6 separate regions of the Homo sapiens genome follow, and regions 1, 2, 3, 5 and 6 are each linked to region 4. The links are contacts of gene promoters, found by promoter capture Hi-C in blood cells and fetal thymus (Javierre and others, 2016). All regions are on one chromosome and are shown on one strand. Each heading gives the region's core, a stretch centred on a gene start or on the middle of the fragment in contact. The rest is flanking DNA. Distances are from core to core; before and after follow the strand shown. Region 1 overlaps GNAQ (G protein subunit alpha q). Region 2 overlaps GNAQ (G protein subunit alpha q). Region 3 overlaps GNAQ (G protein subunit alpha q). Region 4 holds the start of CEP78 (centrosomal protein 78). Region 5 overlaps GNAQ (G protein subunit alpha q). Region 6 holds the start of LOC107987081 (a long non-coding RNA gene).

Region 1 (4,785 bases), core at 821-3,320, 370 kb after region 4:
TTAAACCATTGGAGACATCTGGAGGTCAGAAGTATGAACTGGTCTTACTGGTCAAAACCCAAGTGTCACTGGGGCTACATTCTTTTCTTGGAGGCTCTAGGGGAGTGTCCGTTTTCTTGTCTTTTCCAGGATGGTCCCACATGCATTCCTTGGCTTGTGTCCTGTTACTCCATCCTCCCACGCAGCAGCAGGGATCAGGTCCATCTCACTTTGCATCACTCTGACCTCCTCTGCCTCCTTCAACTTTAAGGACACTTGTGATTACATTGGGCCCACTTGGATAATCCAGGCTAATCTCCTTATCTTAAAGTCAGCTGATCAGCCACAATAATTTCATCTGCAACCTTCCCTTTGCTATGTAAAGCAACTGCTATGGTTTGGATATGGTTTGTTTGGCCTTGCCAAGTCTCATGTTGAAATTTGACCCCAAGTGTTGGAGGTGGAGCCTAATGGGAGGTGTTTGGGTCATGGGAGCAGATCCCTTATGAATGGCTTGGTTTCCTCCTCCAGTAATGAGTGCATTCGCGCTCTGTTAGTCCCTGAGAGAACTAATTGTTTAAAAAAAAAAAAAAAAAAGCCTGGCACCTTCCTCCCCTCTTTCTTCCTTCCTCTCTTGCCATGTGGTGCCTGCTTCCCTTTGCCTTCTGCCTTGAGCAGAAGCAGCCTGAGGTCCTCCCCAGATGCAGGTGCTGGTGCCATGCTTCTTGTACAGTCTGCAGAACTATGAGCCAAATAAACCTCTTTTCTTTATAAATTACCCAGTGATGTGGTTTGGCTGTGTCCCCACCCAAATCTCATCTTGAATTCCTACGTGTTGTGGGAGGGACCCAGTGGTAGGTAATTGAATCATGGCGGCAGGTCTTTCCCTTGCTATTCTCGTGATCATGAATAAGTCTCATGAGATCTGATGATTTTAAATACTGGAGTTTCCCCTGCACAAGCTCTCTCTTTGCCTGCTGCCAGCCATGTAAGACATGACTTGCTCCTCCTTGCCTTCCATCATGATTGTGAGGCCTCCCCAGCCACGTGGAACTGTAAGTCCATTAAACCTCTTTTTTTTTATAAATGGCCAAGTCTCAAATATGTCTTTATCAGCAGCGTGAAATGGACTAGTACGGTAAATTGGTACCAATAGAGTGGGGCACTGCTGAAAAGATACCCGAAAATGTGAAAGCGACTTTGGAACTGGGTAATAGGCAGAGGTGGGAACAGTTTGGAGGGCCCAGAATTAGACAGGAAAATGTAGGAAAGTTTGGAACTCCCTGGAGACTTGTTGAATGACTGACCAAAATGCAGATAATTATATGGACAGTGAAATCCACGCTGAGGTGGTCTCAGATGGAGATGAGGAACTTGTTGGGAACTGGAGCAAAGGTGACTCTTGTTATGTTTTAACAAAGAGCCTGGCAACGTTTTGCCCCTGCCCTAGAGATTTGTGGAACTTTGAACTTGAGAGAGATGATTTAGAGTATCTGGTGGAAGAAATTTCCTTCTTTCTCTTCCTTCCTTCCTTTCTTCCTTCCTCCCTTCCTTCCTTCCTTCCTTCCTTCCTTCCTTCCTTCCTTTCTTTCATACGGAGTTTCATTCTTGTTGCCCAGGCTGGAGAACAATGGTTCAGTCTCAGCTCACTGCAACTTCTGCCTCCCGGGTTCAAGCAATTCTCCTGCCTCTGCCTCCCAAGTAGCTGGGATTACAGGCATGTGCCACCACACCCGGCTAATTTTGTTTTTAGTAGACAGGGTTTCTCCATGTTGGTCAGGCTGGTCTCAAACTCCTGACCTCAGGTGATCCTCGTGCCTCAGCCTCCCAAAGTGCTGGGATTACAGGCATGAGCCACCGTGTCTGGCGGAAGAAATTTCTAAGCAGCAAAGCCTTCAAGAAGTGACTTGGGTCCTGTTAAAGGCATTCAGTTTTATAAGGGAAGCAGAGTATAAAAGTTCAGAAAATTTATAGTCTGACAATGTGATAGAAAAGAAAATTCCATTTTATGAGGGGAAATTCAAGCCCGCTGCAGAAATTTGCATAAGTAACGAGGAACCAAATGTTAATCCCCAAGACAATAGGGAAAATGTTTCCAGGGCATGTCAGAGACCTTTTCAGCACCCTCTCCTATAACAAACCTGGAGGTTTAGGAGGGAAAAATGGTTCCATGGGCCTGGCCCAGGGTCCTTCTGCTGTTTGCACCCTAGGAACTTGGTGCCCTGTGGCCCAGCTGCTCCACTAGTAGCTGAAAGGGGCCAAGGTACCACTTGGGATGTGGCTTCAGAGGGTGACAGCCCCAAACCTTGGCAGCTTCCACATAGTATTAGCCTGCATGTGCACAGAAGTCAAGAATTGAGGTTTGGGAACCTCCACCTAGATTTCAGAGGATGTATGGAAATGCCTGAATGCCGAGGCAGAAATTTGCTGCAGGGTGGGGCCCTCATGGAGAACCTCTCCTAGGGCAGGGCGGAAGGGAAATGTGAGGTCAGAGCCCCCACACAGAGTCCCTCCTGGGGCATTGCCTAGTGGAGCTGTGAGAAGAGATCCTAGTGGAGTGACAAGAGATCCTCCAGATCCCAGAGTGGTAGATTCACCGAGAGCTTGCACCATGCACCTGGAAAAGCTGCAGACACTCAACGCATGCCTGTGAAAGCAGCCAGGAGAGGGGTATACCCTGCAAAGCCACAGGGGCAGAACGGCAGAACTGTCCAAGACCATGGGAGTCCACCTCTTTTTTTTTTTTTTTTTTTTTTTACCCCAGACAGAGTCTTGCTCTGTCCCCCAGGCTGGAGTGCAGTGGCACGATCTCAGCTCACCGCAACCTCCGCCTCCCAGGTTCAAGCAGTTCCCCTGCCTCAGCCTCCTGAGTAGCTGGGATTACAGGTGTGTGCCATGCCACCACGCCCGGCTAATTTTTGTATTTTTAGTAGAGATGGGGTTTCACCATGTTGGCCAGGCTGGTCTCGAACTCCTGACCTCGTGACCCCCTGCCTCAGCCTCCCAAAGTGTGGGGATTATAGGCGTGAGCCACCATGCCTGACCTCATGCATCACGCATCAGTGTGACCGGGATGTGAGACATGGAGTCAAAGGAGATCATTTTGGACCTTTAAGATTTGACTGCCCTACTGGATTTTGGACTTGTGTGGGGCCTGTAGCCCTTTGTTTTGGCCAATTTCTCCCATTTGGAATGGCTGTGTTTACCCAATGCCTGTACCCGCATTGTATCTAGGAAGTAACTAACTTGCTTTTGATTTTACAGGCTCATAAGCGGAAGGGACTTGCCTTCTCTCAGATGAGACTTTGGACTGTCTGAGTTAATGCTGAAATGAGTTAAGACTTTGGGGGACTGTTGGGAAGGCATGATTGGTTTTGAAATATGAGGACATGAGATTTGGGAGTGGCAAGGGGCAGAATAATAATGGTTTGGCTGTTTCCCCACCCAAATCTCACCTTGAATTCCCATGTGTTGTGGGAAGGACCTGGCCGGAGGCAATTGAATCATGGAGGCAGGTCTTTCCTGGGCTATTCTTGTGATAGTGAATAAGACTCATGAGAACTGATGGTTGTAAACACTGGAGTTTCCCTGCTCAAGCTCTCTCTCTTTGCCTGCTGCCATCCATGTAAGACATGACTTGCTCCTCCTTGCCTTCCATCATGATTGTGAGGCCTCCCCAGCCACATGGAACTGTAAGTCCGTTAAACCTCTTTCATTTGTAAATTGCCAAGTCTTGAGTATGTCTTCATCAGCAGCATGAAAATGGACTAATACATCCAGCCTCGGGTATTCTTTTATAGCAGTGAAAATTGACTTTAGACAGTAATATGTTCACAAATTCTGGGGAGTAGGATGGTGGATATCTTTGAGGGGCCATTATTCTTCTTACCACAGAGAGTGAGAGATAAGGAGAGTTTGTTGCCTTAAGTGGAGTCATGAACTTCAGCTGGGAGTACATCTAGCCTGAGGCAACCTCCACGGAAGAGCCAGGGAAATAAATGCTCTGCCTTCCAGTCCTGTGGGGACTGTTCAGTGTGTTATGGAAGGGGTCCCGAACATCCCGCGCCATGGACCAGTGAGCTGCGGGCGAACTAGCACTCACTGCCTGAGTATTACTGCCTGAGCTTCGCCTCCTGTCAGATCAGTGGCGGCATCAGATTCTCACAAAAGTGCAAACCCTATTGTGAACTGTGCATGTGCAGGAGGGATCTAGGTTGCACGCTCCTTATGAGAATATAACTAATGCTTGATGATTTGAGGTGTAACAGTTTCATCCCCAAACAATCCCCCCGCCGCCTCACCTACTCAATCTCTGTAGCATTCCACAGTCTTTATAGCAACAGAATACCCCCTGGGGTGGGGTAGTGCAGTCAGCCTTTTTTTGAGAACCACTGGCAGTGAGATGGGGTCATCTTTAGAGTCATACCAACCTCCTCAGGGCATTGTCTAGCAGGGAAACTAGTCAGAAAGATGGGCTGTCTGAACAGGACTAAGAGAGCACAGAGAAACCAAGCACTAATGAGCTACCTTCACTCTCTAACCCAGCCATAAGCTCCAGCTAACCCCCACTCAGCCGCCTGCAGATGCCCAGGTGGTCATGGGCCATGCTACTAAGAAATAGTGAGTCTGTTCTAGGGCAGCTTTAATATGAAATCTCAGTTTAGGAGTATTTTATGGCTTCTATTAAATGGAGACGTTAGACGCCTTTGAAAAATTTTGCATGAAACACACTGAATCATTTCTTTCCTTTCTGTTATAAATTATAGATGTCTGTGCATTTATGTAGGGATTTTTTTCTTTGCCTAA
Region 2 (4,910 bases), core at 2,325-4,824, 300 kb after region 4:
CAGGCGTGAGCCACTGTGCCCGGCCAAGCTTTTCTAAGTAGTGTGATGTTTTGAGTAGTTAGGTATTTGACAACTCCTTAAAAGTCTCATTACCCAAATGGAAACGTTCTAAAATGGATTGTGATGATGCTTGCACATATCTGTGTATATATTAAAAATCATTGAACTCTACATTTTATTTATTTATTTATTTATTTTGAGATGTAGTCTTTCTCTGTCTCCCAGGCTGGAATGCAGTGGTGCGATCTTGGCTCACTGCAACCTCCTCATCCTGGGTTCAAGCAATTCTCCTGCCTCAGCCTCCCAAGTAGCTGGGATTACAGACATGCACCACCACTCAGATAATTTTTGTATTTTTAGTAGAGACAGGATTTCACTATGTTGGCCAGGCTGGTGTCGAACTCGACCTCAAGTGATCTGCCCCTTTGGCCTCCCAAAGTGCTGGGATTATAGGTGTGAGGCACCACGTCTGGCCAGAACTCTACATTTTAAATGGCTGAGTTGTAGGGTATATATGTGATATCAACAAAGCCGTTATTTAGAAAAAAATTAATTACCTGTACTTTATAAAATTCCTGTGGCACCTGTTATAGTACAAAACAAGCAATAAGTAATGACTTAATTGCCTCAGCAGTAATATTTATTAAGAAGAATATATGGAAAAGAAAGAAGAATACTTCATCATTGGAAATTTTCCCACCTCTATATTCTCAACTCTAGTTTGTGGAAGATCTAGAATATTGTAGCAGTCATTCATTTAATATGTAGTATATTGACAGGCTCTAAAAAAAAGTTGATGGTGAGTATACTTGGGAGAGCCTTAAGTACACAACAGGACAAGAAAGGAATCATTCTAGGGTCAGCGTTAGGCTACAGCTTTTGGTTTTTGAAGCCCTGCCCCAACTCATGTGTGGTGTGAGTGCGGGGGTATGGGTGTGATTTCACAAACCCCTGGAAATATCACCCAACTTAGTGATGCCTAGTGATTCAATATTTTCTTTTTTTGATTTGTTAAAGTATTTTGCATTTAGTTGGTTTAATTTCTGTTAACTTCCTTACTGGTTCAAGTAAGCAAGTACAGTCTATGTGAGGCACTGTTTTCACTAGATGCCTTAATGACTTTTTTATCTTTTCTATGATGAAACATTTCAGGGGGAAGGTTGCATATAAGACAGTTGGTTTCTGATCGTTTTTTTAAAGACTAAAACCATGTTTATTATGCTTCCTCCAATGTTATTTTTATGTATTATTGGGTCGGTGTATTAAAAATAAGGTCTGAGTATATACTGCTATAATTCAGACAGCATTTGTTGGGTCATGAGGCCTAAACCAAGAACTAATCCAAGAGCCATACATTATATCTTGGGTTATGATATCTCTTCCCCTTTAACTCTAGTTTTTGCTTCTTGGATCACTTCATGGGTTGTAGAACAAGAGGAGAGGCTCAATTTAAATTAAGAGGCAAATTGGTTTCACTTCCTCGTTTTTCAGGCAAATGGTAGGAAGTCATCATATGTGCAGGCTTTACTAAACATTAATAAAATGCACCGATGTACTTTCTTTAACTTTACTTTCTCAAGGAGTAATTCTGGTTGTAAGAGTGTCCTTTCTTATTTCCTGCCTGCTTGTTATACATTTCAAGGTGTGATACTTCCGAGCAAAGAGATCCTTCCCTTTGCAGGAAGAAGGCATATTTCCATGTGCAATTTACTTAGTAGTAAGGAAACCCGCATTTATTTATTTTAGGCTTAGGTTGACTATTGCTGTTTCTGAAGAAACTGAAGGGGAAAGATGGGAAGAGAGACTCCTGCTCTGTTACCATTTTGTTGCACGTCTGTTCCTGTCACTGGATTGAATACTGGAGGAACATAGGGCAATCAGGTGAAATAAATTAGAGGACAAAATTTAAATTAATGAAACAGCCCATAGGGTACCTTTTTTAACTGGCTGGTGAAATCGTCTTGACATCAAAATTGGTGGTACCAGATGTTGCGCCTGTCTTTTGGACAGCACATGTGGAACACACAAGAAGCATCTTTGGACTGCTTTGGAGTAATTATAACCTAAAAGAACAGGGACATTTCATGTACCTATCTTCGAAGTTCTCTGAGCATTCGCTACCAAGGGGCAACTTCCTATCTCCAATGGCAAATGTATTGGCTTTTTACAAAAGCTGAATCTTAAAAAATTTTTTGTTTTAGGAGAAGTGAGAACCCAACTGATTTCCTAATGCATCTCTTTATGACGTAGTTGGATTCTCCCAAATAGCCATTTGGAAATGATACTTTCAAGAGTCCTTGCTGGGTGGTTTAATGCCAATAATGAGACCCCCCAGCAGGTACTATGGTTTTTGATCAACATCAACATTTCCCCCCAAGAGAGAATTTTAAACTTTAAAATGTGAACAATGCAGAGGTTTGGCTTGCTTGTACATGTGTGTTCTAATCATGCTCTTTTTCTTCCTTTAAGAAAAGGGAAGTATTTCTTTGGGTATAATTTTCTTATTTTTTTGAGACAGCATCTCACTCTGTCGTCCAGGTTGGAGGGCAGTGGTGCAATCTTGGCTCACTGCAACCTCTGCCTCCAGGGTTCAAGTGATTCTCCTGCCTCAGCCTCCAGAGTAGCTAGGACTACAGGCCCACACCACCATACCCTGCTAATTTTTGTATTTTTAGTATTGACGGGGTTCCACCATGTTGATCAGGCTGGTCTTGAACTCTTGACCTCATGATCCACCCACCTCAGCCTCCCAAAGTGCTGGGATTACAGGCGTGAGCCACCGCACCCGGCCCTAATTTTCCTTTTAACTGACTATTAGATGCCACATGAACAGTGGACTTCTAAAAGTCCTTAAAGGTCAGTAACTGCTCTGCATGTGCAGATTCAGTAACTTTTGTTTTCCATGATACTTTCTGTCTTCCAGATCCTTTTGTGGTTGTATGCGTATTAGGCACACTTGGAACATATATAAGTCCTTCTTAGTATTCTCAATGTCATTATTTGAAATTACTGGGATAATATTAGCCCAGAAAGCATGCCATGTTCTGCAATCTGAAAATCTGCGTATTTTTTGAGACTTCCTAGATCATTGCTTCTCTTAACTGGGGCAGTACTTGGCTGGCTCCCTCTAGCACCTTAATTCCCCTACCTTGAAAGATAATTATTTTTAGAGGCTCAAAGTGAAGAGCCACGTGAGTAAAAGCAAAAAAAAAACTTGACATATTAACCTTGAAAGAAGACTACTGTAGTTTTTAGTCAACTTATTTGAATTATTATTTGAATATATACTAAATACTAGGTGACGTTCTCGTGAGAAATTTAATAGTTGTTAATGCTGTTTAACAATATAGAGAGAGGGAAAATGATCATAAAATCCAACGCTGGAGAGAACCCTTGAGGTCATCCAGGCCAATTCGCTCATCCTCAGCTCTCATTGGCCAAGTGGCTATGTGCGGATCGTTGTCTCCTGTGGGCGGGCTGGGAGGGCCCCTGACTTCAGCTGATGTTCTTTCTGTGCCGCACCTCTGCCTGTAGCTGATCTCTTGATGAATATGCAATAAGGTGGAAAATGGCATTTCAAATCCATCTTAGGCCTTTTCCTCTGTTATAAATGTAATTTGTTGTTCTCTTTTGAGGAGGGCCACATGAGCTGTTCTATCCTGAGGAAGTATTTGCAGGGTTAATAAGGAAATTCAGAGTGCTTTTCAAAAGAGCGTCCCATAATTTCCCAGCCGCTGCATTTTTAAAGTGTGCAATTTATCTTTATGTGTGACCTAATAATCTGGATTGCGTGTGTCACGTTTTTTATTATCTGGAAAAAAAATGTTAAATTCTGTGGGTGGTGTATTAAGTTTGAAGGGTCCTCGCTGCTTAAAATCTGTTATTATTATGACTTTATATTTTTATATCTTTCTGCTTCCCAAATAATGTTCAGGGAAGTCCCGGTTTTCTCTAAAAGAAGTGTGCATGTATCAATGGTGCCACTTTTTTTTTTTGAGACAGGGTCGTACTCTGTCACCCAGGAGTGCAGTGGTACAATCTCAGGTCACTGCAACCTCTGCCTCCTGGGCTCAAGTGATCCTCCCACCTCAGCCTCCCGAGTGTCTGGGACCACAGGCGTGCACCACCCCGTCTGGCTAATTTTTGTATTTTTAGTAGAGATGGGGTTTCAACATGGGCTGGTCTCAAGCAATTCACCCACCTTGACCTCCCAAAGTGCTGGGATTATAGGCATGAGCCGCCGCTCCTGGCCAGATGATGCCACTTTATAAATGTGTGTGTGTGTGTTTGTGTGTCTGTGTGTGGAACTTAGAGACCAACAAGTTTCTTACCTTTTCTTTAGCTAAGGAGATTTATCTCATAGGAAGTGAAATTGCAAATCAGGTTTTGCAGCCTGCTCTGACTCACACATTAGCAGAAGACGGTCAGTCATGTCTGTGTCCTTGCCTTTGAGGCCCAGAGAATGTAGGACACAAATCGCATCCTCTGTTTCATCCTCCGTGGGTAGTCTCCATGTCGATGCAGTGAACTTTCTAGGTGTACGAGAGTGCTTTTCATTGGGATGAATACACATTTCAAACTTAACCTCCTCTCTTTGCAAACTCTTTCCTCTTCAGGCTTCTCTAAGAATCTAGTGCCTCCATCCATCAAGCCAGAAATCAACGAGTTCTCCCTATGTCATCTCCTCCCTTTTTCACTTCATCCATCTCCAAACTATCCCTCCCCTTGTCAGCCCCACACAGACTTTTTTAGGATTTTTTTTTGTTTTGATTGTTGGAATACCCTACTAATTTGTTCTTAACAGTCATCCATTCTTTACCTAGCATAAATCAAGGCCTGTTACTTCACTGGTTCAGACTTTCCAAGGCTGTCCAGTGCACTTAGAATAAAATCCAACTTGTTTCCTAAAA
Region 3 (4,767 bases), core at 2,086-4,585, 340 kb after region 4:
AGTGTTCCAATTTAGCTTCTTTTGTTGTAAATTTCTACTTTTAAAAATGGGGATCATGTATTAACTAGGTAAGTGCTAATAAACTGCCCCCTGCCCCCAGATTTGTAAATAAAATCTGTGATCAGGCTTCTATCCAGCATGTCTTCTACCACTTTGTAACTAAATGCAAAATTTTAGGTATTTTCTAATTTAGGAATTGTATGAGTCCATTTTCATGCTGCTGGTAAAGACATACCCGAGACTGGGCAATTTACAAAAGAAAGAGCTTTTATTGGACTCAGTTCCACGTGACTGGGGAGGCCTCACAATCGTGGCGGAAGGCAAGGAGAAGCAAATCATATCTTACGTGGATGGCAGCAGACAGAGAGAGCTTGTGCAGGGCAACTCCTGTTTTTTAAAATGGTCAGATCTCATGAGACCCATTCACCATTATGCGAACAGCACCGGAAAGATCCATCCTCATAATTCAGTCATCTCCCACCAGGTCCCTCCTGCAACACATGGGAATTATGGGATCTACAAGATGAGATTTGAGTGGGGACACCGAGCCAAACTGTATCAGGAATTTTCTGTTTGCCATTTTCCAGTCCGTTTCTTGTCATCTCTCACAAGGAGGAACAGAGGGTATCAAGAGCTGTAATCCAACTTCAAGGCCATGTTGGATTCTTCTGAGGGCCTCAAACCCTGCAGACCAAGAGAAGGTTCTCTCTAGAGTGTCTCCACCTCCCTCCTCAGCTCTGAGGCTTCCTCTAACCATCTGTGTAACTAGCAGCAGGATAGTACAGTGCCTAACACTGCAGTCAGATTCCCCTCACCAAGACTGGATCTGAGCACCACCACTTACTAGCTGTGATCTTGGGCAGATCAGTTACATTCTGTGTGCTTGATATTCTCCTCTGTTAAAGGGGAATGATGAAAATAAATAGCTAAGTCACAGGGTGGGTATTAAATGAACTAACACATGTGAAGCAATGACCAGAGTGCCTTGCACAGAGTCGATGTTTGCTGCCATTCTGTTTTTTTTTTTTTTTTGAGATGGAGTCTCGCTCTGTCACCCAGGCTGGAGTGCAGTGGTGTGATCTTGGCTCACTGCAAGCTCCACCTCCCGGGTTCATGCCATTCTCCTGCCTCATCCTCCCAAGCAGCTGGGACTACAGGCGCCTGCCACCACGCCCAACTAATTTTTTTTTTTTTTGTATTTTTAGTAGAGACAGGGGTTTCACCATGTTAGCCAAGATGGTCTCAATCTCCTGACCTCGTGATCTGCCTGCCTTGGCCTCCCAAAGTGCTGGGATTACAGGCGTGAGTGCCCGGCCACTGCCATTCTTTTTTTAGTTGATTGTTATTTTATTTAAGAGAAAATATTATATTGAGGTATAATTAGCATTCTTCTTAAGTTTATTATATAAATAAACACTTCTGGAAAATAATGCTCTTGATCAATGAAAACAATAATATTTATTCTCACCATTTTATCACAAGCAAATCCCTTAAAAAACATTCCATTAAAGGCTGGGGCAGTGGCTCACGCTTGTAATCCCAGCACTTTGGGAGGCTGAGGCAGATGGATCACAAGGTCAAGGGATCTAGACCTTCCTGGTCAACATGGTGAAACCTTGTCTCTACTAAAAATACAAAAATTAGCTGGGCATGGTGACGTGCACCTGTAGTCCCAGCTACTCGGGAGGCTGAGGCAGGAGAATTGCTTGAACCTGGGAGGCAGAGGTTGCAGTGAGCCTAGATCACAGCACTGCATTCCAGCCTGGTGACATAGTGAGACTGTCTCCAAAAAATATATATATATTTTTTCTATTAAATATATATATAAAATATATATTTTTTTTCTATTAAATATATATATAATATATATATTTTCTATTAAATATATATAATATATATTTTCTATTAAATATATATTATATATATTCTATTAAAACAGTGTATTATTAGCAATACTGCTTCTTTTATGACTTAAATGAAACATTTAAAATTTAGTTATATTTTAAGAATACTGTAATACCCTTATCTATGTAGTACAGATAACAGAGAAATAACATGAAAGACATGGCATTCTGGAAAGAAGAGTTTACAAACCAGACATCTCGATTGGAATGCTAGCTTTGTTACTTATTTGCCATGTGAGATAATTTCTCTAGGACACATTTTCCTCACCTCTAAAATGGGGGACACTAGAAGAGCCCTGAAGTCCTCAAGCAGTGCCTGGTATGCCGGAGCCATTCTGAAATCATCTCAGAGAAAATGTATTTCGAGAGTTTAGCATGGTGTCCGCAGGTGAGAGTGGGGAGGAAGAAGGTGTCAGACAAGACTGGGGCCCCTGCAGGGAGAGCAGACTTCACCTCTAATGGATGCTGAGGCTGTACCCTCTAATGGCTTAGTTGCAAGGACCTGATTTCCTTGAATTCTTCTTCAGGTGCCAAATAGACAAGAATCCATAAATTTACTTAAAGCTTGTACTATAAGTACTTGTATGACCTACTAGTTCATCTGTTTTCCTTACAACCCAGCTTTTCCTCATTGTTACCAGAAAGGGATCCCCATCCAGACGCCAAGAGAGGGTTCTTGGAGCTCGAGCAAGAAATAATTCAGAGTGAGTCCATAGAGTAAAGTGAAAGCAAATTTATTAAGAAAGTAAAGGTGTAAAGAATGGCTACTCCATAGGCAGAACAGCAGCATGGGCTGCTCAACTGAGTATGCTTATAGTTATTTCTTGATTCTGTGCTAAACAAGGGGTAGATTATTTATGAGTTTTCCGGGAAAAGGGTGGGCAATTCCCAGAACTGAGGGGTCCTCCCCTTTTCAGACCATATAAGTTAACTTCTGAACATTGCCATGGCATCTGTAAACTGTCATGATGCTGGTGGGAGTGTCTTTTAGCATGCTAATGTGTGATAATTGAGCAATGAGGATGACCAGAGCTCACTTTCACGGACATCTTAGTTTTGGTGGGTTTTGGCTGGCTTCTTTACCACAACCTGCTTTATCAGCAAGGTCTTTATGACCTGTATCTTGTGCTGACCTACTGTCTCATCCTGTGACTTGAAGTGCCTAATCTGGGAATGCAGCCCAGTAGTCTCAGCCTCATTTTACCCAGTGACTTCAAGATGGAGTCGCTCTGGTTTGAAACCCTTTGACATCATGACCCTGTTGAAGCTTTCCAAGCCTAGTAGATTATCCATAAAGTGGGCAGTTTACCCTTAGATAATTAAGTAATGGATGGAACAATAAAACCCTTTGACATTTTGATAGAGTTATCTTACCTACTACATTCAAATATGCATATATTCCACCCATTGTTTCTTAATTTTATTCCTATTCAAGAGGTGAAGGAAAAACTTTGAGGAGCTTCTTGTTTACCAAACATGACAAGGGATTTTCTTTCTTTTCAAAGTATGTATTATTTACTAGTTTCCAAAAGGGATCATTCAGTGTTTTTAATCTCCTCATAGATTCTTATCTGTGCCCTATAAATGAAGCTTTTTTCAAGTGAGAATGAGTAGCATATGTTTGATTTCCACGTCATTTATGCCACAGAATAAAGCCCAGGTCATGTTAATATTCAATAATGCTCTTCAGCTTCTATTTTTAACAAAACATTGCTTATGACTGTTGTTAAAGATCACTCGCAGCACCGAGGATTTCACATCTCTGAATGAACTTTTTATGAAATTCACTCTTGTAAGATAGAACATCATATATATATTCTGAACACTGTCCATGAAAGTGGGCATTGACCTAGAAGAAACCAGTGTGGGTGTGATAGAAACCAGTATTGAACCTATGAGAAATCCAAGACAGTGTCCTTCTTTGTGTTTATTTTGTGTTTGATAATCAGTTGCAGTGGTTGTGGGCAGAGCTGGGAGCCTACTTAATGCATTTACATGGCATAGGGAGTGATAGAAGGTACTTGTGAAAGGGGAAGAGCTGCAGAGGAGTGAGGAGGATGGGTTCCACACTAGGGCTGGAAAGCCCCATGAAGACAAAGCAGGGGAGAGAGGCCCCACTGTGACAGATAACGTTTCAGAAGAGCTCAGTGGACTCAAAATCCATGCACTAGGCTAGATTTAAGAATCCCTAGATGCCATAGAAGGACAACTGAAACTAGAACCTAGTATGTTTTAAAATAATAATATAATTTGCTGCTCAAGACCTATTAGCAAACAAACAAACAAAAAAACAATCTGGGGGGTGCTTTCTGGTTACAGAATCTTGGCTTTTGAAAAAAGGCAGGGTTTGGTGAAATTAGTATTTAAAGGCTTATTTCTCATCTTGTTTCATGCCTGGGGCGATGACCTGGCTTCAAAGCTGTAGTTCAAAGGGGTTTGTCCACAAGGATTAGTTGCTTAGAGTCTAAAATGTGCTTGAAGGGGAAAAAGAAAAAGCTTAGACACTAAAGGAATACATGCTAATGAAATCACACTGGAAGAGTGAACAGCAAGCACTGCACACAGTTGTTTGGTCTGTGTTATTGATATGGAGGCCTTGCTAATGAGAACTAGTACGGCTTTCAAAGCTCTGACCTCACATATCTAATAGGGCAAGCAAAATGGAAAGACAGCGTATACTTGGGGGCAGTGAGTGGGCCTCAAAGAAGTGGCAAAGGCAGGGCCCTCAGGCTGGGGTGTTGAGGAAGTCCTAGATGACAATCGTATAATACATTCATATAAAGACAGAGCAATAGCAACATGTCCTCAGCCTTACAAAAGGAACTTAAACGTGAAATTTTCTTCCAAATTATGTGGTGGCAAG
Region 4 (4,661 bases), core at 940-3,439:
AAAGACGCTGCTGTGTTTCACTTACAGACGCTGCTGTAAACTGTCACCCATACTTGCTGCCCCCCTCTTCTAACTAGTCACCACGCCCATCCATTCTCTTAGATATCTGAAATCCTACCCTTCTTTTTTTTTTTTTTTGAGACAGAGTTTTGCTCTTGTTGCCCAGGCTGGAGTGCAACGGTGCAATCTCAGCTCACTGCGACCTCCACCTTCTGGGTTCAAGCAACTCTCGTGCCTCAGCCTCCCAAGTAGCTGGGATTACAGGTGCCCGCCACCACGCCCGGCTAATTTTTTTTTTTTTTTTTTTTGTATTTTTAGTACAGATGGGGTTTCACCATGTTGGTGAGCCTGGTCTCGAACTCCTGACCTCAGGTGATCCACACCCCCCCGCCTTGGCCTCCCAAAGTGCTGGGATTACAGGCATAAGCCACGGTGCCCGGCCCCAGCCCTTCTTTTCTATACCTTAGTTTGGGCCATTAGATTACAATTCACCATCCTTCCAATTTTAATTTGTCTTCCATATGGAGGCTAGACTGAGCTCCTACGGAAATTCCATCTCATCATCCTACAGCGGTTTCCCAAAACCTTCAGGATAAACATCCAACTCTATGACAGGACAAACGAGGACCCTCCCTGTTTGGCCCCCACAAGGTTTCCAGCCTCAACTCTCTCTGCTCTTTCTCAAACCTAAATTCCAGTCCTGTAACTCAGCTTGCATACTCTCTCCTATTTCCAAAACTTTTGCACAAACTGTTCCTTCCTGTTACCTAGCTAGCGTCTATAGGAAGCTGCCTCCATTATGTAGAAAATGCTAAGTGCTCAAAGGAATAACAGCATTTTGTCATATATCATAGTTGACCTAACATATTTTCCGAATAATCAGAGAGTCTGGATCCCTAATTATACCACTATACATTTACAAATGGCTTGTATTTGTAAAGCACTTTACAAACTTCTTATATACACCTTAAAAAATGAAGACAGGCCGGGCGCGGTGGCTCATGCCTGTAATCCCAGCACTTTGGAAGGCCGAAGCGGGCGGATCACCTGAGGTCAGGAGTTCGAGACCAGCCTGGCTAACATGGTGAAACCCCATCTCTACTAAAAATACAAAAATTAGCCGGGCATGGTGGCGCGCGCCTGTAATCCCAGCTACTCGGGAGGTTGAGGCAGGAGAATCACTTGAACCCGGGAGGCGGAGGTTGCAGTGAGCCGAGATCTTGCCACTGCATTCCAGCCTGGGCGACAGAGTGAAACAGTGTCTCAAAAAAAAAAAAAAAAAAAAAAAAAAAAAGACAAAGGCTGACATGTATTAATTTCCTACCTGCTTAGTTCTCTATCAGGCAAATCAAAGTCATTCAATAAAATAGGTAACATCTGTCAAATGTTTAATGATGTCCCAAACTGTGCTAAGAGCTCTGCAGGCATCAGCAGCGCAGGGAATCCTTGCGAAGGCGCACATAACCTGGGTCTCGTTATTAAGCCCATGTTACGGATGAGCACACTGAAGCCCTAGAGACCTTAAGCCACTCACCTAGCTCGTGAGTGTCCAGGCCGCACACCCCTTCTATTGCACACATACCCCGACAATGGACACCACTCACCTAAAAACCCACTTCGCCGCACCGACTGAGGGGCCCTGGAGGCGGGAACTACAAACCTGTGTCCCCCAGCCAGGGCTGGAAGAAGCTCTTGATGGAGACCAAGGGCAGGTCTTTATTGATCTTGAGGGTGCTCAGCAGAGGCGCCCAGTCCACCCCGCGGAGGCGGTCGGCGTTGAAATCCAGCACGCCCTCCCGGAGACAGGCGCGCACGGCGGGCAGCGGCACCGAGTTCTGCAGCGCGCACAGGTACTCGTAGTGGGAGAAGAAGTCCGCCGCGCTGTCGCGGCGCAGCTTCACGGAGTCGATCATGGCCCGAGGGCGGCCTCGGGGGATGCCCGCCGCGGAGACGCCGCCCGCGCCCACCCAAGAACGCTGAGTCGCAACCCGGCCGCTCCGGCACCCACGGCCAGGCGATAGCGGCAGCCCCGCACCGGGCTCAGGAGCGGTGATTCGGTCGGAAGACGCAAGGCCAGAGCCCCAAGCTAGGCCGGCCCCTCAACGCCCCACTCCCGCGCTGCCTCCCGCCCTGCGGCCCAAGCAGTTGGCGCCCGCCTCATAGTCCTCTGAGGCGCCGGGATTCAAGCCGGTGGGCGGTGCCGTGGAACGGTGCGCCAAGACGTCAACGTGCTCGCTGTGCGTCGGCACGCAGGTCCCGCCTCCTGAGGACGGGTGAGTTCGCTGCTACCTGAGATAGTGGTCGGGAGAGTTTGAGGGTTTGCGAAAGAGTTTACTGATCGATCCGAATAAAAGTGAAATGTGTGGTCGGGCGCGGTGGCCCACGCCTGTAATCCCAGCACTGTGTGAGGCGGGGGCGAGCGGATCACCTGGGGTCAGGAGTTCGAGACCAGCCTGGCCAACATGGCGAAACCCCGTCTCAATTAAAAATACAAACATTAGCCGGGCATGGTGGCGGGCGCCTGTAATCCCAGCTACTCGCCTGTAATCCCAGCTGAGGAAGGAAAATCGCTAGAACCCGGGAGGCGGAGGCTGCAGTGAGCCGAGATCTTGCCATTGCACTCCAGCCTGGGCGACAAGAGCGAAACTCCGTCTCAAAAAAAGAAAGAAAATAAAAAGTGAAATGTGGATGTAACAACGCACTTTTAAAAAAAGTCTAAACATCTGAGGAATGTGTCTGTGCTTGCAGTGTCCAGCCAGCACAGAGACTGCACTCAAGGGATGTGGGAACGGCTGATTGAACGTGAACTGCGGTCATTAAATCTTTTATGTCTGTGTTAATATCTACAAATAAGCCTTAATTTCTGTAGTTTCTGCATATCTCACACGGTTCCTGGCAAATTGAAGAGTGTTTCATGAATTCAGGACTTTATTGTGTTTGCTGTGAATCAGTTTGTTTTGTACTGACGATGATGTTGGCTAACTCCCTTGTAACTAGTACTTATTTGAAATAATGTCCTCGGGATTATTTTAAGCAATGTTTAAGTATGAAATCATTTCATTCTCCTAACATCTCAAGGAATATACTATTATATTCTACTTTACAAAAGGGGAAACTGAGGAACGGGGAAGTTAAGTGGAAGCTAAGTGGAAGAATCCAGATAATTGACCTCTCCTTCTATTGGTATGCAATTGCTAGAGCAATGATAGTCCTCCGGTAGAGCCTTAGACATTGTGTTTATTGCATTCCTGTTCCACCCACTGCATTCCGGATACTCCAACTTACTTCCAACACACATATGCAGGCGTCTCTAAAATTCCGGAGATATGGTCACCAATTATTTTTATGTGCGACATGCTCAAATCTTAATATAGTAAACGCTTGTATATTCATAAACCAGCTTAATAAATGAAACATTACCATTCCTGTTGAAGAGCTTTGTGTAACCACCTTCCCAATCACGACTACTCTCTGACTCTGAGATAACTGCTCTTCTGAACTTGGTATTCATCGTTGCAATGTATGTCTTTATATTTCTGCTACATATGTAAGTAAGCAGTATATAACATTCTATATTTTCTTTTCCTACTTTACTTATCGTTACCTTTACTAGGTCCATCCGTGTTGACATATAGAGATATTCATTTATTTTCCCTGTTGTTATATGGGAGTTCCATGTAGAAACATACAGTAATGTGTCTGTTTTTCTGTTGATGGTAATTTAAATTGTTTCCAACTTTACGATTTCTTTGTTGCTCTATCCATTTTCTTTCTAGTCTCCAGCATCAATTAATGTAGTGTCCATTACCTTTTTAAAGCTCCCTCCTCCCTGTTTCCCATGAAGCCACCTGATTTCTTTTTCTTTACCTCTCGAATTTCTTCTTCTCAGTCTCATTCTTTGGCTTCTCTTGCATATCCACTCTAAATATTGCTGTTCGTCAGGTTTCTACCCTCAGCTTTCACCCCTTCTGACATTTTACAGTTTCTCTGGGTGTTCTTGTCTTCTGCTCAGCCTTAACTTCCCCACTCTAGGCAGATTACTTCTAACACAGATAGATCTCTTCATCCATTAAATTGCCCCCTAGAAAGCCAAGATTTCTCACTGCCCTCAGTGTCAGATCTATGTCACGTAGCTTGACATACAAGCTCCTTCATAATTTGACTATCTCTGTTGTCTCTCTCCTTGCTACATTCTTCCTGGCATGTCTTCTCTAGATACACAGAACTGCTTGAACTTTCTGATGTCCTATTGTTGCTGTCTGGGTCTTTTCATAGGCTGCTCCTTTATTTAGTCGGCTAACTTCCATTCTTTTCCCAGCCTTGGTTTGGGGCACCTTCCCTAGAAAGCCTGTTTCTCTCTAACCCTCATCTCTCCTCCCTTGCTTGTTTAGCACCTCACTGCTGTGCTCCCTGACATCCCTGTAGCATAACACTTAGAACATCCAATGATAAACATCTTTTTAGATGGTTTTCCTTCCAGAGTCTGAAAGCCCTTTGAAGGCAAGAACCATGTCTCATTCATGCTTACATTCCCTATGCCTAGCACAGTGTTAGCACAGAGAAAGTGCTAACTAATGACTAATTGTAGGAACATTCTTCCCTATTATCCCCGCAAGCTATTGCCAGCACCCTGTAGCCACTGCCTATGAATGCAGCTCAGA
Region 5 (5,094 bases), core at 1,387-3,886, 270 kb after region 4:
AGTGTTTATTAATGCCCTATTTACTTTCCCCTGGGTGAAGTTTTGGCTAGTAATAAGATTTTGTGTCTCTGCTGTAGTGAGGCATTGCTGTAGAAAGCCAGGTCTAAGAAAAATGAATTTTGTTCCTTTGGGGAAGCATAATTACCTTAAAAAAGTTTAAAGTGTGGTTTTCAACTTAGTAAAATCCTATTATAAAGAAAAACGTACATAGCAAAAATTTTGCTTGTAGGTAATACGATCCTAGTAAAATAGAATTTACATTGTCTCTTATAGTTTGTTGTAATAACATTTTGTAATAACAGTTTTTTTGCGATGTAATTGATACTCAGTAAGCTGCACATATTTAATATGTAGAATTTGATGTTTTGTCACTTACATGTGTCTATGAAATCATCACCACCATGAAGATAACAAATATATTCATCAAACCTGAAGGTTGCCTGTGCCTCTTTTTTATCCTCCCTCCCACCTATCTCCCCCTCCAAACACTGATCTGATTCCTGTCACTGCAGACTTACTTGTATTTAGTTACGTTTTACACCTGAGGGAACATACAGTATGTCCACTTTTGCTTGCCTTTTTCCACTCAGTCATTTTTAGATTCATTTATGTTGTTGTGTGTCAATAGTTCGCTCCTTTTTGCTGAGACATATTTTGTTGTATGGATGTACTACATTTTCTTTATCCATTCATCTACTGATGGAGACTTGGATTGTTTCCAGTGTTTGGCTACGACAAATAAAGCTGCTGTGAACATTCATGCATAGGTTATTGATAGATACGTGCCTTTTTTTTTTTTTTTTGCTCGGAGTAAATCCAAGGACTGGAATGGCTGGAACACATTACCAGGGGTATGTTTTACTTTTTAAGAAACTGCCAAGCTGTTTTCCAAAGTGATTTTTAATATTGTGCAGTGTATGAGAGTTCCATATCCTTGCTAGCACTTGGTATAGTCAGTCTTTTAAAAAAATGTTGCCATTTTAAATGGGTGTGAAGTATCTAATTGTGGTTTTAATTTGCCTAATGACTAATGTTGTTGAGTAGTTTCTCATGTGCTTTGCCATCTGTATAACTTTTTCGATAAAGTGTGAAACCTTTTACTGATTTTTTTTCCTTTGGATTACTTGATTTCTTATTTTTTTTGTGTATTAATATTTTCTGGATACAAGTCTGTATGTATGCTTTGCAAGTATTTTCTCCTTGTCTGTGGTTTGTCTTTTTATTCTTTCAGTGTCTTTTGACAAGCAGTTTTTAATTTTGATGAAATTCAGTTTTGGTGTTAATTTGATGGATAGCTGAGTATGATGGGCTGGTGGTCGTAGTTAATTTTAATTGTATGGGAAGTTGAATGGTTTTTGAGGGTGAGGGGACAGGGTTGATTCGTGAGGATTCTGTGGGTGTGGGTGCTTTATATAATTATGGGTGTTGATTGGTGGTAGTTGCTGGTTGAACATTGTTGGTGTTTATGTTGTGATTGAAATTACTCAGGGTAACAGGTTAGATAATTCAGAGTAAAGTAAAAAAGGGTGGAATAAAAAAAGAGGAAATAAAATTTAATTAGGCCTTTTTGAGTAGTTACAGTAATGGAGGCTGTGATCTGGGTTTGTGAAATTGTTTTTGGTATAGACTTTTCTAGTCACATTAGGTCTAATAGAAGTGATACCAGGTTTTGGCTTGTGGATAGGCTTGAGTGAAGGGTTGTACAGTGAATTGTAATTGAGTAAAAGCCCAGTATATTAGAGAAGTTGAGTATTTGTAATGGGTATTTTATCTTAAGATTATTAGTTATAAAAATGAGTTCTGTATTTTTAAATACAGGTGTCTGGTACTACCTATTTACCTCTAAGTACAAGTCAGTGGTATTTCACACTTAATATGTTGTTTTCATTATTACTTAGTTTCTAATACTTTCTAATATCTATTTGATTTTTTTCTTATGTGTTACTTAGAAGTGGTTTTTCTTGTTGTTTTTGTTTTATTTTTAGTTTGCAGATATTTGGAGATTTTTCTAGGTATCTTTCTGTTACTGATCTCTAATTCCATTGTAGTCTGAGACCATATTTTATATGACTCTTCTAAAATTTATTGAGACTGGTTTTATAGCCCAGAATATAGTTTATCTTGATAAATGCTTCAGGTGCACTTGAAAATAATGTTTTTCGTTGTTGTTGGGAAAGCAGCCTATGTCAGTTTGGTTAAGTGGTTAACAGGGTTGTTAAAGTCCTCTATTATCTTTGATGTATTTCTCTCTACTTGGTTTATTGCTTTTCTCTCTACTTGATCTATTAAGTATTGAGAAAGGGGTATTAAAATCTCTGAGTATAATCGTAGACTTGTCCGTTTCTCTCTGCAGTTCCATCATTGTTTGCTTCTCATATTTTGAAGCTTTGTTATTGGATACATAAACATTTAGGATTGTTATGTCCTTTCGATAAGTTAACCGGTTTATCATTATGAAATGATTGTTTTTATTTCTGATAATATTATTTGCATTAAAATCTGTGTCTGTTATTAATATGAGATGACTTCAGAAATTTTGTGGAAAAATTGATTAAAAGATAAAAAGTATTAACTTCATTTCCCAACATAAGCCCCATCACGTTCGAGACACTTTTGTAAGCAATGATACTAGCCATGTAGTCCATTCCTAAAGAATTGAGGGTCCTGATGATTTAACCATGTCAAGGCAGTCTTTTTTACATTATTAACTGTAGAAAAATGGGTGCCTTTTAAATTTTTTTTTAAGATTAGAAAACAAAAATAAGTCAGAAGAAGCCAAATTAGGACCATAAGGTGGATGCCTAATAATTTTCTGTAAAAATTCTCACAGAATTGTCCTTTTTTTGATGAGAGGGAACGAGTAGGAACATTGTTGTGGTGAAGCTTTCCCAGGCATTTTTCTGTTAAAGTTTTGACTAACTTTCTCAAACCACTCTCATAATAAGCAGGTGTTGGTGTTCTTTGGCCCTTCAGAAAGTCAGTGAGCAAAATGCCTTCAGTGTCCCCAAAACCTTTTGTCATGACCTTTGCTCTTGACCCTTCTGCTGCATTTGCTTTGACTTCCACCTCTTCGTAGCCATTGCTTTGATTGTGCTTTTTTTTCAGGATCGTACTGGTAAGGCCATGTTTCATTTCTTGTTATAGTTCTTCAAAGAAATGCTTCAGGCTCTTGATCCTAGTTGTTTAAAATTTCCACGGAAAGCTCCACTCTTGACTGTAGCTGACCTGGGCACCCACTGAGTGAAAAGTTTGCTAAACTTTAATTTTTCAGTCAGAATTATGTAAGTTGAACCAATTGAGATTTCTGTGGTGTCGACTGTTTCTACTGTTAATTGTCAGTGCTTTTCAATTAGGGCAAGATTAATTTTTTCCTCACAAATTGATGTGGATGGTCTGCTGTTGTGGGCCTTATCTTCAGCATCATTTCATCCGTTCTTAAAATGAGCTATCCACTTATAAACTGCTGATTTCTTTGGGGCATTGTCCTCAAAGTGATTTCACCGTTCTTCCACGTGAGTTTCACTATAAATTTGGCATTTGTTCTTACTTCAATTTTAGCAGAATTCGTGTTGTTCTGATAGTGGCGTTTTTCAAACCAGTATCTTCTTATTCTTAGTGCCTCAAACTAGATCCTGTTCAGATATGTTATAACAAGTCTGTATTTTGGTACAAACATTTTTGAAATCCATGCATAGTTTTTTCATAATACACATTTTCCATGCACTGTTTTTTTTTTTTTTTTTTTTTTTGAGACTAAGTTTCACTATTGTTGCCCAGGCTGGAGTGCAATGGCGTGATCTTGGCTCACTGCAACCTCTGCCTCCCGGGTTCAAGCAATTCTCTTGCCTCAGCCTCCCGAGTAGCTGGGATTACAGGTGCCTGCCACCATACCCGGCTAACTTTTTGTATTTTTTATTAGACACGGGGTTTCACCATGTTGGCCAGGCTGGCTTCACACTCCTGACCTCAAGTGATCCGCCCGCCTCGGCCTCCCAAAGTTCTGGGATTACAGGTGTGAGTCTCTGTGCCTGGCCTTCCATGCACTTTTTGAAGACCTCTTGTATATATCCACCATAGTTTTCTTCTAATTAGTGTTAGCATGGTGTATCTTTTCCCCTTCTTTTATTTTTAAACCATTTTTATCTTCATATTGAAAGTGTTTTTTGTAAGCAGTAAATAGTTGTGTCTTTACATGTAAAGTGTCTTTCTCTCTCTGGCTGCTTTTAGGATTTTCTCTCTGTTACTGGTTTTCAGCAGGATGATTATGAACTGCCTCATGTAGTTTTCTTTATGTTTCTACTGCTTGATGTTTGTTGAGGGTCTTAGATCAATAGTGTTATAGTTTTCATTTAATTTGGAAGATTTTCAGATGCTGTTTCTTCAAATATTTTTCCTTTTATATTCCCACCTTTCTCTCTTCTTCTAGTACTCAAATTCCAAGTATATTAGATAACTCGATTTTGTTCCACACTGAGACTGCTCGTTTTTTTCTGTCTTTTTTTCCCTTTGTGCTTCATTTTTGATAATTTCTATTTTTGTGTCATCAGGTTCACATATGTTTTCTTTTCAGTCTCATCTGCTCTTATTTCTATCTGTTGTATTTTTCATTTTAGATACTGTATTTTTAATTGCCAGAAGTTCATTTGGGACTTTAAAAATACATTCCTTTCTCTTTTCTTCATGTTTATGTTTTCCTCTACATTCTTGAGGTGGTGGAACCTAACTAGTACTGCTTTTTAAAAAACATCCTTGTCTTCTGGGTCTAAATTTATTGAGCTTTCTTGGAGTTATGGGTCACCTTTTCCTGTTTCTTTATTTGCCTGATAGTTTTGGGTAAGATGCCAGACATTGTGAATCTTACATTGTTGATTGCTGGATATTTTGGATTCCTTTGAAAAGTGGTGGACTTTGTTCTGTCATGCAGCTGATTTACTTGGGATCACTTCAGTAATTTGTAGTCTTGCTTTTAGGCTTTGTTAGGGTAAGTTTAGAGCAGCCTCTCTTTCATAGTTACTTAAACTTCACTATTACGTTGATACCCTTATGAAAACTCACTGATTCCTTCTTTGTGGTGCAGTGAACCTGTGTGAACCT
Region 6 (5,116 bases), core at 2,289-4,788, 320 kb after region 4:
TCTTCAAAAGACTTCGTTGCCTTCCCGTTAATCAATACATCCCCCATGGATGCAGTCTTTGCTCCTCAGGGATTTTAGATATGCTGATCCTATAAGTGAGCCTTGCCTTTTGTTGATAAAACACTGCATTTATACCTATAATTATTTTAGAGCCTTCAATAAGAAATTTTCATTCTCTCAGTACTTTTGATAAATCTACTGTGAAGGATATTTCCATTTTCCAAGATCAGTAAGCAATAGCAAGAAGTTGCAATGTCCAGTGGGACTCATAGATTTAACTCACAAAGTGAACCCACTGCTAAAATAAGGCAATTCTGTATACCTTTGCCTCTGTTACCATCCCAAGGCTTCTATAATAAAATACCAAATCATCTTAAAATCAGGCATTTGTTTTTCTTAGATGGTTCCTTGAAATTAACACTGGTTTCTTACCTAATTGATACTTTCATACCTGGTTTTCCGGTGGCAACAGGAATCTTTCCACAAATAACAAAAAGACCCTCCACAAATAATTCCTCCTGCTTTTATTTTCAAGGGTGAAAAAGAACTGTGCAAGTTTGTGAGCCCAGGAACATGGTAATTGAGCCAGAGTAAGCTGCATGGATATATCTAAGTAGTCTGAATTTGAAAGGATCAGGGTTCTCCCTGCCCCAAGAAATCTCAGTGGTTTCTGAAATCGTTAGCATGCTTGTTTCCTTGTAGTTGTAATTGTGTTGAGTTTGTTTGTTGTTTATTTTTTTAATACCAGCGAGTTTTCCAGTTTACGGTCAGTTAATAATATGATGATCTGATGAATTCTGCCTGACTTACCATGTGTGTGCTATTTGTTTTTTATATATACACACCACACTGCCAGTTTACACACTAAAATATAATCTCCCTGAATTTTATCCCCCAAAATCTTATTTCTTAGATGTTCCAGAAGAATCCTTCAGGACCTTGCCCTGTTTTAAGACAGGACCTTGCCCATATGAAGATCATTTATTATACAGTCATGTAGATGTTAAAGATGGGGTGGAATTTATGCCTTATTCATGTAACACATTGAAGAATATTTAACAAGTTATTTGAACTTTTCATGTCAATTCTTTTTTTTTTTTGAGACAGAGTCTTGCTCTGTCATCAGGCTGGAGTGCAGTGGCGCGATCTCAGCTCACTGCAATCTGCGCCTCTCAGGTTCAAGCGATTCTCCTGCCTCAGCATCCCAAGTAGCTGGGACTACAGGCGTGCACCACCATGCCCAGCTAATTTTTATATTTTTAGTAGAGACGGGGTTTCACCATGTTGACCAGGTGATCTTGATCTCTTGATTTCATGATCCGCCTGCTTCGGCCTCCCAAAGTGTTGGGATTACAGGCATGAGCCACCTCTCCCGGCCTCATGTCAATTCTAATTAAGTAGACATTACTGTGTTGAATACTATTCAGTTATAAATTGACATCATAAAACGTTACAATATATGAGTTTTCCTCAGATACCATAATTATCCTCATAAATCCTCCTACATATCATGACTTTAGTGTGATGACCTCCCAGTTTCCCATGTTTAACCACCTTTCATTCATATTACAAATGACTTTCACGTTTGTTTCTTTTTCTCTATATCATATACATGTTCTAAAGCGTCATTTTCACCTTGCTTCATCCATTAACTTTCTGAACTCTGCCCACTTGTTGCCTTTGTTTATGCTTGTTAAGGACATCATGTCTACTCCTTCCTGTTCAGCTCAGCTGCCTCTTCTTCCGAGAGTTCTCTGATAGCTTCCCAGCCCCTCATAGTGCTAAGTAATCCTACTGTTCTTTAGCATATCCATAGCGAAGTGTTTGTAATTGCCTAGCTTGTATTGATTATGGTGACTTGGATGTTGATCTTATTTTCCTCACTAGATTCTGAGCTCCTTGAAAGTCAGTCTTCATCAGTTCCATCTTTGCATTCATTCTTCATTGTCCCTGGCATTATATCTTGTACATAGTAAGTGCTCAAAAAATACATCTTTTTGAATAGGTAAATTATTTGTGGCCAGGTATGGTGACTCATACCTGTAATCCTAGCACTTACGGAGGCTAAGGCGGGCTGGTAGCCTGAGGTCAGGAGTTTGAGACCAGCCTGGCTAGCATGGTGAAATCCTGTCTCTACTAAAAATACAAAAATTAGCCAGGCGTGGTGGCACATGCCTGTAATCCCAGCTACTTGGGAGGCTGAGGCAGGAGAATCGCTTGAACCCTGGAGGTGGAGGTTGCAGTGAGCTGAGATCATGCCGCTACGCTGCAGCCTGGGCAACAGAGCAAGACTCCATCTCAAACAAAAAAAATTATTTGTGAGCTTAACAATTGAGAGTCTCCTCGTCTGCCCTAAACTTGTCGAAATGATTATTCAAATCAACAAATAACTCTTGAAATCTGTATGCATAAGGGAATAAATGCTATATACTGTCAGGGATACAGAAAAGTTTAATCAGGGCTGGGCAGAAATTTACAATCCAGAAAGGGAGAAGGGCAGATCTGAGGGAGGGGCACATTGGGGAGAAGGAATGGCTATAATAAATGATCAGAAGAAGGAATTTGCATGGGATGTAGAAATCTGCCAATTTAGCTTGAGTGGAATTCTTATAGAGGAGGACTAGAAAATGGTTTAGGATGTTTCATGAAAGATTTCACATGCAGGCTAAATTTGGATTTTATTTTCTTGTGTTTATTATTTTAATAATAATATTTTATGTTTTGGTTAGAGTTTTCTATGGTTACAAAGGTATATACTTTATAATTTATAAATAGTCTAAAGAATTTGGTGTATATTTGATTAACAGTTACATGGAGGTATCACATTCTGATTTATATTATTGTGACACTAAAGATATAAAATAAATAACTATTTTGGAAATTTGGCTTAAAAACATAACCATTTGGTTTTTAGTAAAGCTTCTCTGCACCCACCATCACATTGGCCATAATCTATAGTAGCATAAATAAAGATACTTTCTAATATTGTCCAGCATAACTTTGTACTTGCTTTTGAGCTCCTGTATTTTATAAAGCAAAACATGGCCTGTACATTATATGAGCTCTTCTGAACTGGGAAAGTGTTCAGTTTTGTTTGCTGTGAAATTGATTCTGGCTTTTGGAATGCCACCCCAGAGTAACTGAGGTTTCTGTTGCTCCTGCTTACTTGTTATTGCTTGAACCGAGAGTCCTGCCTGGTTAGCTGGCCGGAGGGTGCTGTGGTCAGGGGGAGTCCAGTTCACAGTCTCTGGACCAAATGGTGTGACATTGCATGCCCTTTGTCAACAGATTGCATAATTAGTAAGGAGCTTGTAATTGCACATTTTACCAAAAGAAAGATGAATTCTTCCCCGAGTGTGTATCTGTTGTCCTGTTCTTGTACTTTTTGCCAAACAAGCACTGTTTATAGGTGAGCTGCTTGGACTCAGCCCAGGTGAGAGAAGACATACGTCTTAGGACTTCTGAATAGTCTGTGAACTAGGGTTTGTTTATTCCTAAATATTATTTTGCATTTTCCCTGAACACAAATATTGATAACTAGTGATAAAAAGGGATTAAGTATTTGTCACTCGGTCAAATCAAAAGCCATATTTAAGGCTCTACTAGGTGCAAGGGCATTTGACTGTGAGATAACTGTGTCATTTCTTAGTTTACAAAAGAAAGAATTTTTATCCCTGTTATTTTATGGCTTCCTTTTTTTTTTAAGTTTATTATTTTAAAACTTTTACTTTAGGTTCAGGGGCACATGTGCAGGTTTGTTTATAGGTAAACTCGTGTCATGGGGGTTTGGTGTACAGATTATTTTGTCACTCAGGTACTAAGCCTAGTACCCAGTAGTTATTTTTTCTTACCTTCTTCCCCCCCACCCTCCTTCCGCCCTCTTTATACCGATGTGCTTTTCTGATGGATCTTTGCTTTGGTGTTGAAATCAGCTCTTAATTAAAAAGGAAAGGATATAAAGTGCCTGTGTTTATGTGGCCAAGGAACTGTCTTTGAGTTACAGCTGAGGGAGTGGATCTCAGGGTTTGGAATCCTTGATTTTTTACTGTCTGAACTTGGCAGTTGGGGTTCTTCCTGCGTTGCCTGTTACTAGTTATTTCATATTTGTTTGCCTTATTTTCTCAGATTGAAAATTATCTTACAGTAAGCAAGCTTCTTCCTTTATAATTCTTTATCTCCTCCGTAACATGCCAGACATGTTGTAGAAGCTTTTGTTTATTGAGTGAATTACTCCAGATAGCGGATCATAGTATCCTTTGATAGTTGGCTTATAATCTCTATGAACTGTGAAATAAGGGTGGTATTGTGGCAATTTCAAAGTATTGATAGGCCATTGCTCTCTTTGCCAGTCCTGGGAAGAGAAAAGAATCTGATACAATGCTTCTTCATGTAGTGAATTTTAAGACAGTTGTCTAAGAGAACTCCGCCTCACCTTGGGCCAATGTTGAGTGGACAGTTGCACCTTTTTTTTTTTGTAAACCAGTTTTTCCTTTTAGACTTGAAAGTCCTGATAACCAGGGCTTATTTAGCACCTTGGCTGCAGCTGTCTCTGACAAACTAGCCAGGCGTTTTGAGGCCTGACACCTGTGTTTCCCTTTCGCCTAGCATGGAGGGGTTATGAGAGGATGTATTGCTACAGTGCCTTTTGTCCTCTCTAAGCAATTCTGAGAAAGAACTTGTCACAGGAAAGTACCTCGTTAAACACATTTGACACTTTCTGAATTTTCTGTACTTCCTGAATAATCCAAGGTCCCAGAAGCCATTTTTCATTTTCCTGAAAAATGTAGCCAGGATTCTGGAAAACTTGCCAACTTATTGTTGCCCTTGATCAAGGAATAAAACATTACTACTTTGTGCAACATGAGTGAATTTTCTTAGTTTACAAAATGCCAAAAGGCTGATTTCATTTTAGTATTTCCCACCTAGATAATAAATACATAATAGAGGCAGAATTAATAAATACATATTCTTATCTACCCCTCTGAAGAGCTCTATCAGTCAAGGTTCTCTGCTTGCAAGCAACAGAAACCAACACTGGCTAACTTAAGCAGAAAATGAATTTATCTGAAAATGGACTCACTGGGAGAAGGGAGTAGAAGCTGAAGGATGGCCTCTT

What was found. The method cuts DNA at HindIII sites, captures the fragments that hold promoters and counts their contacts. A CHiCAGO score of 5 or more calls a contact.
Region 1: a fragment that was not itself captured here is called in contact with the fragment with the promoter of CEP78 in region 4 in 4 of 17 cell types (monocytes, total CD4 T cells, M2 macrophages and 1 more); the score reaches 6.8 in monocytes.
Region 2: a contact is called between a fragment that was not itself captured here and the fragment with the promoter of CEP78 in region 4, in 1 of 17 cell types (monocytes). The highest score is 5.9, in monocytes.
Region 3: a fragment that was not itself captured here is called in contact with the fragment with the promoter of CEP78 in region 4 in 1 of 17 cell types (non-activated CD4 T cells); the score reaches 5.3 in non-activated CD4 T cells.
Region 5: a fragment that was not itself captured here is called in contact with the fragment with the promoter of CEP78 in region 4 in 1 of 17 cell types (total CD4 T cells); the score reaches 5.5 in total CD4 T cells.
Region 6: a contact is called between a fragment that was not itself captured here and the fragment with the promoter of CEP78 in region 4, in 5 of 17 cell types (naive CD4 T cells, non-activated CD4 T cells, naive CD8 T cells and 2 more). The highest score is 6.6, in naive CD4 T cells.

Annotation. Positions count from the first base shown.
Region 1 is chr9:77,859,960-77,864,744 of GRCh38, reverse strand. All of the region lies in intron 2 of GNAQ (G protein subunit alpha q), which reads left to right. Among named protein-coding and RNA genes, the nearest start is that of GNAQ, 170 kb to the left of the region's middle. The HindIII fragment of the contact is 6,410 bases long and covers 1-4,785 here.
Region 2 is chr9:77,932,726-77,937,635 of GRCh38, reverse strand. The region is part of intron 1 of GNAQ (G protein subunit alpha q); the gene reads left to right. Among named protein-coding and RNA genes, the nearest start is that of GNAQ, 97 kb to the left of the region's middle. The HindIII fragment of the contact is 7,087 bases long and covers 31-4,910 here.
Region 3 is chr9:77,891,463-77,896,229 of GRCh38, reverse strand. All of the region lies in intron 2 of GNAQ (G protein subunit alpha q), which reads left to right. It overlaps LOC107987081 (a long non-coding RNA gene), which reads left to right. Exons shown (of 2, transcript XR_001746758.3): 2 at 1-1,017. Among named protein-coding and RNA genes, the nearest start is that of GNAQ, 140 kb to the left of the region's middle. The HindIII fragment of the contact is 323 bases long and covers 3,174-3,496 here.
Region 4 is chr9:78,233,603-78,238,263 of GRCh38, reverse strand. It overlaps CEP78 (centrosomal protein 78), which reads right to left and starts at 2,189. Exons shown (of 17, transcript NM_001330691.3): 1 at 1,661-2,189. The coding sequence starts at 1,913. RefSeq lists a silencer at 1,796-2,165 and an enhancer at 1,791-2,460. The HindIII fragment of the contact is 10,697 bases long and covers 1-4,661 here.
Region 5 is chr9:77,961,548-77,966,641 of GRCh38, reverse strand. All of the region lies in intron 1 of GNAQ (G protein subunit alpha q), which reads left to right. Among named protein-coding and RNA genes, the nearest start is that of GNAQ, 68 kb to the left of the region's middle. The HindIII fragment of the contact is 498 bases long and covers 2,388-2,885 here.
Region 6 is chr9:77,916,122-77,921,237 of GRCh38, reverse strand. All of the region lies in intron 2 of GNAQ (G protein subunit alpha q), which reads left to right. LOC107987081 (a long non-coding RNA gene) reads left to right here and starts at 2,244. Exons shown (of 2, transcript XR_001746758.3): 1 at 2,244-5,116. The HindIII fragment of the contact is 1,233 bases long and covers 2,922-4,154 here.